Regions from separate parts of the Homo sapiens genome. Here region 1 is linked to region 2. The links are contacts of gene promoters, found by promoter capture Hi-C in blood cells and fetal thymus (Javierre and others, 2016). All regions are on one chromosome and are shown on one strand. The core of a region is centred on a gene start or on the middle of the fragment in contact, and the rest is flanking DNA. Distances in the headings are between cores, read along the strand shown.

Region 1 (4,826 bases), core at 65-2,564, 150 kb after region 2:
AGACACGGGAGAACAAGTTACAGCCCTGAGGTCATCCAGCCCCTGGGGGAGACAGATGCACAATTAACCAATGCACAGCTACTGTTTATCTTCTAAATTTGCCTGGCTCAGCAAGGAGAGTTTGCAGGTGGCTCTGGGAGTCCCCAAACTGTCATCAAATACGGCCTTGACAGCAGATACAATTTTAGCTTGGTGTGTCATTTATCTATTGCTTTGTAACAACTTATTTTAAAACTTAATGGTTTAGGACAGATGTGGTGGCTCATGCCTGTAATCCCAGCACTTTGGGAGGCCGAGGTGGGTGGATCACTTGAGGCCAGGAGTTCAAGACCAGCCTGGCCAACATGATGAGACCCCCATCTCCTAAAAATTACAAAAATTAGCCTGGTATGGTGGCGTGCGCCTGTAGTCCCAGTCACTCAGGAGGCTGAGGCAGAGAATTGCTTGTACCCGGGAGGTGGAGGTTGCAGTGAGCCAAGATCATGCCACTGCACTCCAGCCTGGGCAACAGAGCAAGATTCTGTCTCCAAAACAAACAAACAAACAAACAAAAAACCACCAACAAAAAACCTTAATGGCTTAAAATAACAACTATTTTATTTTATTTACTCTTGATTCTGTGGGTCAGCAATTTGGGGTGAACTCAGCTGAACAGCTCTGCTGGTCTCACCTGGGGTCACTAATGTGCTTGCAATCATCTGGCATCAACAGGGTCTAGATGGCCCAAGAGGGCCTTCCCCACGTGTCTGCAATCTGGTGTGAGTTGGTCTGCAGGCAAGACGGCTCATCTCTGTTCTATGGAGCTTCTCATCCTCCAGTAGATTAGACTGTACTTCTTCATATGGCAAGAGGGCAAAAGCAGAAGCCATCAGGCCTCTGGAGGCCCAGGCTCAGAAGCTGTACCAAGGGGCTCAGCTCACTTTGATGGGTGCTCTGAATACGTTGCGATGTTTACACTCTTGTAGATCTAAAAAAACCCATGCAGTTATTTCTCTATTTAGATAATTTATTTCATGTACTTTTGTTTTTTTGAGAGTGCAGAGTGCAGTGGCCACTGCACTGGGCCATATTTCACGTACTTTTGACAGCTCCAATTGTTAAAACAGTTTCGTTTTCCCTCTGAGAAGCTGAGAGGCACATCTTCCCCTACCACCCACCTCTGTGTATAGCAGGACCGTGATAGCTGCTACCACGGTGTGTTGGTCTGTGTGGGATGGCATAGCAAATATCATGGACTGGAAGGTCTAAACAACAGAAGTGCATGATCACACAGTCAAAGTTCTGGAGGCTGGAAATTCAAGACCAAGTTATCAGCAGGGTTGGTTTCATTCTGAGGCCTCTCTCCTATGATTGTAGAGGCTGCCTTCTTCTGGTATCTTTGCATGATTATCTCTTGTTCTCTATGTACACAGGTCTGAGGTCTCTCTCTGTGTCCTAATAATCTCCTCTTCCTCTTCCTCCTCCTCCTCCTCCTCTTCTTCTTTGTGTTCCTAGTTTTCTTTTTCTTTTCTTTTTTCAAGTTTTATTTTAGGTTTGGGGACACATGTGCTGGTTTGTTACTAAGGTATATTGCATGATGTGCATGATGCTGAGGTTTGGGATACGACAGAACCTATCACCCAGGTAGGGAGCACAGTACCCAACAGGTCATTTTTCAACCCTTGATCCCCTCCCTCCCTCTCCCTTCTTGTGGTCTGCAGTGTCAATTGTTGCCATCTTTATGTCCATGTGTAACTAATGTTTAGTTCCCATTTATAAGTGAGAACATGCAGTATTTGGCTTTCTGTTTCTGCATTAGTTTGCTTAGGATAATAACCTCCAGCTGCTCAAGTTGCTGCAAAGGACATGATTTCCTTCTTTTTATGGCTGCATAGTATTCCATGGTATATACGCACCACATTTTCTTTATCCAGTCCACCATTGATGGATACCTAGGTTGATTCCATGTCTTTGCTATTGTGAAGAGTGCTACAATGAACATACAGTTGCATGTGTTTTTTTGGTAGAATGATTTATTTTCCTTTGGGTATATATCTAGTCATGAGATTGCTGAGTGGAATGGTAGTTTTATATTTAGTTCTCTGAGAACTCTCCAAATTGCTTAACTAATTTACATTCTCACCAAGAATGTATAATCATTCCCTTTCCTCTGTAACCCCGCCAACATCTGTTATTTTTTGACTTTTTAATAATAGCCATTCTGACTAGTGTGAGATGATATCTCATTGTAGTTTACGTTTGCATTTCTCTGATGATTAGTGATGATTGATGCTGAACATTTTTTCATGTTTTTTGGCCACTTGTATATCTTCTTTTGAGAATTGTCTGTTCCTATCCTTTGCTCACTTTTTAATGGGGTTGGTTTTTGCTTGTTGATGTATTTATCGCCTCTTCTTATAAGGATACCAGTAATATTGGATTAGAGCTCACCCTAAAAAACCCATTTTAACTTGATTACCTCTTTAAAGGCCCTATCTCCAAATGCAGTCACATTTTGAGGAACTGAGGGTTAGAACTTCAGCATATGAATTTTGGAGGGATGCAATTCAGCCAATGACACCTGCAACAGGGATTTCACCCACCAACCTGACGCATTTTCTGCTGTAAATGCACAGGATCTGAGAATCACTCGGGTTTGCCCCATCCCAACTGGCAGAGCTGAACAGAGCTATAGACATCATGGAACCAAGTGATTTGAAAACCCTTTTTTGAAGGCCCAGGAACCTTTGCTACAGCATAACCTATTTGGAATCCTAATATACAAAATATAATCAGTGCAATAAAAAATGGGAACCTCCCAGAGGTGGCCTCAATTCTCCCCTTACATACACATTGAGCATGTGCCTAGCATTTTGCTGCAGGCAAAATAGATCTGTCTCTGTGATGTATCCTTTATGTAACTATTGTAGTCGATTGTATTCTTTGTCTGAAAGTCTTCCTTCCTTCCTTGCCATTGCCATGGTTACCCTTGCATGGTGTGTACTTGCCTATCTGTCTTACAGCAGGTTTCCTGGAAACCAATTCCGAGACAGAGAGTGGTGTGCAGAAGGTTTTTAGGGGAGTGTGCTCAGGAGATTCATCTATAAGGAAGGTAGGAGGTAGGATTAGACAGAAGGAGAGGTTGATCTACTATGCGATAGCAACTGAGGTAGCTGCTGATCCTCAGGAGCCCTAGAGCTCATCTATCCCCGAAGAGTTGTGCTAAACTGAAGGAAGAAGGCAGGCCTTTGTTTTCCTTCAAAGGAAACCATCAGCCAATCATTAGCCAATCATGGCCATGACTGTGGGTGAGGCAGTTCCCTGTGGCCAAGGGCAATTCCCAATGAGTGACACAGTTGTGAGCCAGCAGAAGATTCCCAGCAGGCTCTGAAGGGTGGATCTGGGTGGAACCCCATAGCATCCACTCTACCAACCCCCTGACTTTGGGCTTGGCCATGGGATTTATTTTGGCCAATCGAAGGCAGGTAGGAAGGACAGTATGCTTTTTTTCAAGCGGAAGCCATACAGTCATGGCAAAGTTCTTCCACCTCGAGAGCCTCGGATAGCCGTTGTTTCTTCATCCTGGGTCCGGATGCAGGCATGTGGAGCAGACCTGACCTAGACTGAATTCAAGAGTCCAGCCTGGCCCAGCCAGCATCAGCTGAACTGCAGTTGACTTGGAGACTTAGGAGTGTGAAATAATCATTGATTTTGTAGGACACTGAGATTGGGGGTTTGTTTTCTTCATGGCATTATCACGGCAAGACCTGGTTAAGACAGCTAGTAAGGTGGATTTTACTGGAAGCAATGTCATAGAAGACTTACATTATACATCACAGAGGATTTTAAAAATCCTCCTTCAACATCTTTGTTTTTGTCCCAAATGGCTTCTCTGGGCATGAGGCATATCCTCTTCTCTTTCTTTTTTTCCCAAACAGGCTCTAAAATGAGTGGGAGATGTGAAGGATTTCCTGGAAGAGGTGGGAAGACTGCTGTCAAACAGATACCCTGGCAGAAGGATCTGAGGCCTGAGACCCAAGCTGCCCCGCCTGCCCAGAACTCGGATGGGGTCTGCCCTTACTTCCCACTCGCCCCTGCCAGACTTCCCCTAAATCCTCTCCTGGACCCCACAATCTTGCTCCTTCCCCTGGTGTGACTTCAGCTCCTGGAGGACAAGAAACACATCTGTGGCCAGTTCACGGTGGCCCACACCTTTAAACCTCAACACTTTGGGAGGCCAAGGAGGGTGAATCACTTGATACCAGGAGTTCAAGGTTGTAGTGAGCTATGATCGCGCCACTGCACTCCAGCCTAGGTGACAGAGTGAGACCCTGTCTCTAAAAAAGAAAAGATATGCATCTGCTGGGGTCATCACTCTCCCCAAAGCAAGGCTGGGCACACAGGTGATTCGTATATGCTGGCTGGAAGGGAGGGAAGCAGAGCCACCTGGGATTGATCATCTCCCAGTGAGAATACACCCAGTCCCTGTTGTGTGTCCCCACGGCCACAAGGCGTCAGTAAAGACCTTGGCTTGGAGTTGTCTGGAGCCAGGAAAACAGACTGGACTTTGAGGGCAGGACACCTCACCTGAAGGTGCTTTAGTTAGGTTCAGCACATCTGAAAGAGAGAGAGAGAAATAGGGGTGGTAGAACTGAGCAGTTGACAGAAGGGGACTCCAGGACTTGTCTCAGAGAGTAAGGGGCTGTGTTCTCTGCCCTTCATTCACTTATTCTACAATTGTTTGTTCATTTCTAGTACATGCCAAGCACTATTTTAGGTGCCAAGGTCCTAGCAGCTCACTCACAAAGTCCCTGCTCACATAGAGTAGATAGTAGATTACTGTCTAG
Region 2 (4,485 bases), core at 1,296-3,795:
TCTGGGACCAAAGCTGAAGAGGGAGCTCTATTTAGGACATGCTGCTCTTGTGTCAGAGGAAAGATAATATGGCAAAATTGTAAGATAGCTCATAAATTTCTGCTCAGAAGTGGTTCATGCCATTTCTTTCTTTCTTTTTTTGAGACAGAGTCTCACTCTGTCGCCCAGGCTGGAGTGCAGTGGCGTGATATTTGCTCACTGCAACCTCCAACTCCCTGGTTAAAGCAATTCTCCTGCCTCAGCCTCCCGAGTAGCTGGGATTGCAGGTGCCTGCCACCACACCTGGCTAATTTTTTTATTTTTAGTAGAGACAGGGCTTCACCATCTTGGCCAGGCTGGTCTTGAACTCCTGACCTCGTCATCCACCCACCTCGGCCTCCCAAAGTGCTGGGATTACAGGTGTGAGCCACCGTGCCCGGCCGGTTCATGCCATTTCTACTCATATTTCATTGGTCAAAACAAGGCCAAGCTTGACGACATTAGGGTGAGAAGTCTTTCACCCTAATCTCCTAGGGACAGGCCAGATAGCAACGGCTTTAGAAAGGGAAGGGCGGAGGCTATTGATAATAAAGACTATAGCAAGGACTAATATTAGGCTTATATGTATCAATTGACTGTTATCAGTTATAACATTGACTATTAAAATACTGAAATACTCTAGTACTACCTGGTAAATAGCTGCTGTCCCAAACCTCCTGACCACTCCCTTCCCCTGGGATCCCTTGGGACCTCCTATTCACAAACCAGCAACTGAAGGGTTAACACCTAGCACAGACGTATACCTCCAGGATCCTAGCTGCATTTCTAATTCTGCTTCATCTATGCTTGAGCACTACTTGTTGTTAAATATACTTAATATCACTCTTAGCTAATTTCCTCTATGTAGATTTTTATTTATTTCTGAGGGCAACCCAACTTCCAGGCTCTTGGAAGGAAATAGACTGCAGCCCCTAAGTGTGATCAATACTTAATTATAACAATAATCACTAATAATAACTTGTGCTGCTTCATTGTAACTAAATGTACACTTTTACATTTTTTGGCAAGCATAGTATATGCAATAAGTACTCAATAAACATCTGTAGAGAGACTTATTTAGCTTTTTTCCATTAGCTACATCTGTCTCTACAATCTCAACATACTATTCTCTTGAATCTGTTTTTAATTTTATGCCATTTCTCATGTCTGAAAATGTCATTATAAGTAACTTTTTTTTTTTCTGAGACAGGGCCTCGCACTGTCGCCCATGCTAGAGTGCAGCGAGACACTCGTAGCTCTTACCAGTAACTTCTTTATAACACTTTTGCAATTTACGAAGCACTCTCACATTATTTCATTCACTCTCCCCAACATTACCAAAAGTTAGGAATTAGATCTTTTTACAGATGAAGGAATTGAGACTCCCTGAAGTCAAGTGTCTTATAGTTAGGTTTTGTTCATTCATTCATCAAATAGAGTGCCTGATGTGAGATTTATTGAAACTGGATTTGAAAACAATTTTCCTGAATTCAAGTCGAGGGTTTACTCCACTATTCTCAATTACTTTATCACCAGGGTTATAAACCCAAAGGAAGTGAGTAACAACAGTGTGATTTTATTGAGGACCCATGCAACACTAGTCTCAGAAAGGCTCCAGTGTCATTTGTAAAATTCAAGGTTACCATCAGCAGAGGCAGTCATTCCTCTCTGCGCTTGTTACCTAATGCACTAACTCTCACTGTAGGTAATTCCATTCAAGACACATTTGATGACTATACCTACAGGTTTTGAAGTTATTCGGATGGGGTTTTGACACTTACTAGCTGTGGGGACTTAGATCAAGTTACTTAACCTTTTTGAGCTTCAGTTTTATCATTTGTAAAATGGATACAATCCTGATGCCTTTGGACCAAGTGGTCACGGAAATGAAAGAGATAAGTATGAAAAAATCCATGCTCATAGTAGCTGTGGTTTCCAACTGCGTGATAAAACTTTAAAATCTGCATTCAAATAAGAACAACTATGTCGACGTAAGGTTACAAGCTAACTATTCTTGGTAAGTACTGTTCTTTATTCTAGAGGACATCACTTTACAGTTTGGTGCTAAATGCTCTTTTATGAATTTAAGGTGCCAGTAGCTGTCTACTTGAACGGCATGCTTAATCTGGAACGCCATGTCGACCTTCATCCCCCAGTTCTTTCTCCCCAAATTAAAAACACAAATACACACACACGCCCCTACTTAGTTCCTAAAACTCAAGGGCACGCGCACACACCTACTTATTTCCTAAAATTCAAGCTCGCACCAAGGAGATCCACAAGGATAGGCAGGGTGGTGGAGGTCACTGGGCAGCGCCTCCGGATCCCCCGAAAGGGGGCGGGGTCAAAACTCAGATCTCGAGCTCCCGAAAGGGGGCGGGGTTAAAACTCTCAGATCTCATTCCGCCTCCCTCTGTCGTCGCCCCTTCCCAATTCTCGCGAGACCTCAAGGAGCACAGCTTCTGCGCACCGCACGATACTGGGAGTCCAGGCGCCAAGGGAGGGGGAAGGGAAAAGGGGAAACGGTGCAAACGGCGTGGCCGCCATCTTGCTTGTGCCCCCGCTTCGCGCGCGCTCCGTTCTCCGTGACGCACACTTCCCCCTCCCCTCCGCCGCGCCTGGGCCTCTGCATTGCCCGACTCCGTAGGAGCGCGGGGGCGGCTCCTGCTCTTCCTGGACTCCTGAGCAGAGGTGTGTGAGTGTGCGGGAGTTTCTGTGCGAGGGTGATAGGGAAGCGGCGGCGGGGGGAGGGGCAGCGCTTCCCGCCTTCGCCAGAGACCTCACTTCCTCGCGCGGCCGCTGCTGTAGCTCGGTCCGTCCTGCCCGCCGCCATGTTGTGCTCTTGCCTGGCCCGCTGCTGTCGCCGCCGCCGCGCTCGTGGGGTCCGTGTGCCTCGTCGGCCCGGCCCGCGGGCTTTCTCCCATTGGCGGAAGGCGACGGCGGGGGGGCTCGCTCGTGATTGGTCGGTGGCGGGGAGGCCGCGGACCTGGCACCTTATTGGACGCGCCAGCTCCGGTCTAGGGGGTGATGAAGGAATCTGAGGCTGCGGGGATGCGCGCGTCTTGGGCTAGGGCGGCTGGGGCAATGACCCCCTGCGGCGCAGGCGTGGGGTTGCGGCGAGAGGGCGAGCCTAGAGGCTTTAAGGGGGAAGAGAGGGTGATGGCCTGGCAGGTACTTTGGGGGTAGCTTAGGCCATGGCCTGGGAATGGGGGACACTCACTTTCAGAGGTGCTTTTCCTGGTACATGCATGGCCCAAGATTGGGGTGTGCAGGCCCTCAGGGTTCCAGGCTTGGAAACACCGAAACCCAAGTGACAGGCTGAGAGTCTTCGAGATCCAGGGTTGCTAATGTGACCCAGTTTGGAAGTGGCCCTGAAGTCCACGGTGTGAGTGTATGGTGTAGGAAGAAAGGCATCAGGGCTAGGGGCATAGCTGAACGGTAGAATCGGATCAGGGATTTTGCTGGAGAGTGCAAGCATTCAAACACTGAGGTTTTGGTGGAGCCCTGGAGTCCAGAGTCAACGGACCTGGGATGTGATGTGAGGAGCAAGTAAACCGAGAGAGGAATGCTATTGAGAAGTGTGCTCTGTCCGAGCCTAGGAAGCACAGCATTAAGTAGTATCAGATTTAAAGTGACAAAATCTGATATAGGAAGCATTTTAGGGGACATTTTCGGACTTGGGAAGTGTATTAATAGAACAGTTATACATTATTGAGTCTCAGGACCATACAAGTAGTTTTGAGATGTTGTATATGAAATTTGCTGCTCTAGGAAGGATACAGGTCATGGCTGAGTTTCCAAAGCCACATTAGCAAATATTAGGTAGTTGGTAGTTATTTGTTGAGTAAATATTGTTAGGTTCCCCTTTAAGGGAAAGGGAGCTAGCCAGAAATTTTCGGTCTTGGTTTATTTCCTTGTATATGTGCCTAAAAAGTATACCCATTCCCATGTGTACTTTGAATTTTTTGTTTGTTTTTTCAAATAAGCAGCTCCAAACCAAAAAAAAGCCCATGCATAGCTTCTTAAGGAACAGGACTTGTCAACACTTTCTGGTTCATATTCAAAAAGTTTTTATTCCAATCCAGAGTCGTTCCAGTCAACTTGTTGGGAATATGTTCTTTTCCACTGAATCTGAATCGTAGTTACTTGTATTGCTTTACATTTGCTCGTCCCAGTGTGTGAGGGCCATGGAAACACATTTATGTTAAACATCTGTGTTTTCCTAATTTGTTTTTCCTTGTTTTTGTTAGGTAGTCCTTTTTAGCTTTAGATGGTACTCTTCTGTTTTCATACCAATTTCAAGAAACTCCTAGGGTTTTCAAATTTAGTTTTATGTGAATGCAACTACATTTTCTGGAGAAGGGAATTGATAAGTAGCAGAGGAAGAGAATTGCTATTTTGGGGCATATTTTAACTCCAATAGGTAGGCATTATCGTCCCCATATTGCAGATGAGGAAACTGAGGAT

The links. The method cuts DNA at HindIII sites, captures the fragments that hold promoters and counts their contacts. A CHiCAGO score of 5 or more calls a contact.
Region 1: a contact is called between a fragment that was not itself captured here and the fragment with the promoter of NFYC in region 2, in 5 of 17 cell types (megakaryocytes, fetal thymus, naive CD4 T cells and 2 more). The highest score is 8.6, in megakaryocytes.

Annotation. Positions count from the first base shown.
Region 1 is chr1:40,844,231-40,849,056 of GRCh38, forward strand. LOC105378676 (a long non-coding RNA gene) reads right to left here. Exons shown (of 3, transcript XR_947239.2): 2 at 4,567-4,596; 3 at 3,867-3,950. Among named protein-coding and RNA genes, the nearest start is that of CITED4, 16 kb to the right of the region's middle. The HindIII fragment of the contact is 9,100 bases long and covers 1-4,826 here.
Region 2 is chr1:40,689,159-40,693,643 of GRCh38, forward strand. It overlaps NFYC (nuclear transcription factor Y subunit gamma), which reads left to right and starts at 2,546. Exons shown (of 10, transcript NM_014223.5): 1 at 2,546-2,709. NFYC-AS1 (NFYC antisense RNA 1) reads right to left here and starts at 3,103. Exons shown (of 1, transcript NR_024567.1): 1 at 1-3,103. It also overlaps a transcript of RIMS3 not described here. RefSeq lists a silencer at 2,954-3,053 and enhancers at 3,294-3,463, 3,484-3,533. The HindIII fragment of the contact is 4,450 bases long and covers 468-4,485 here.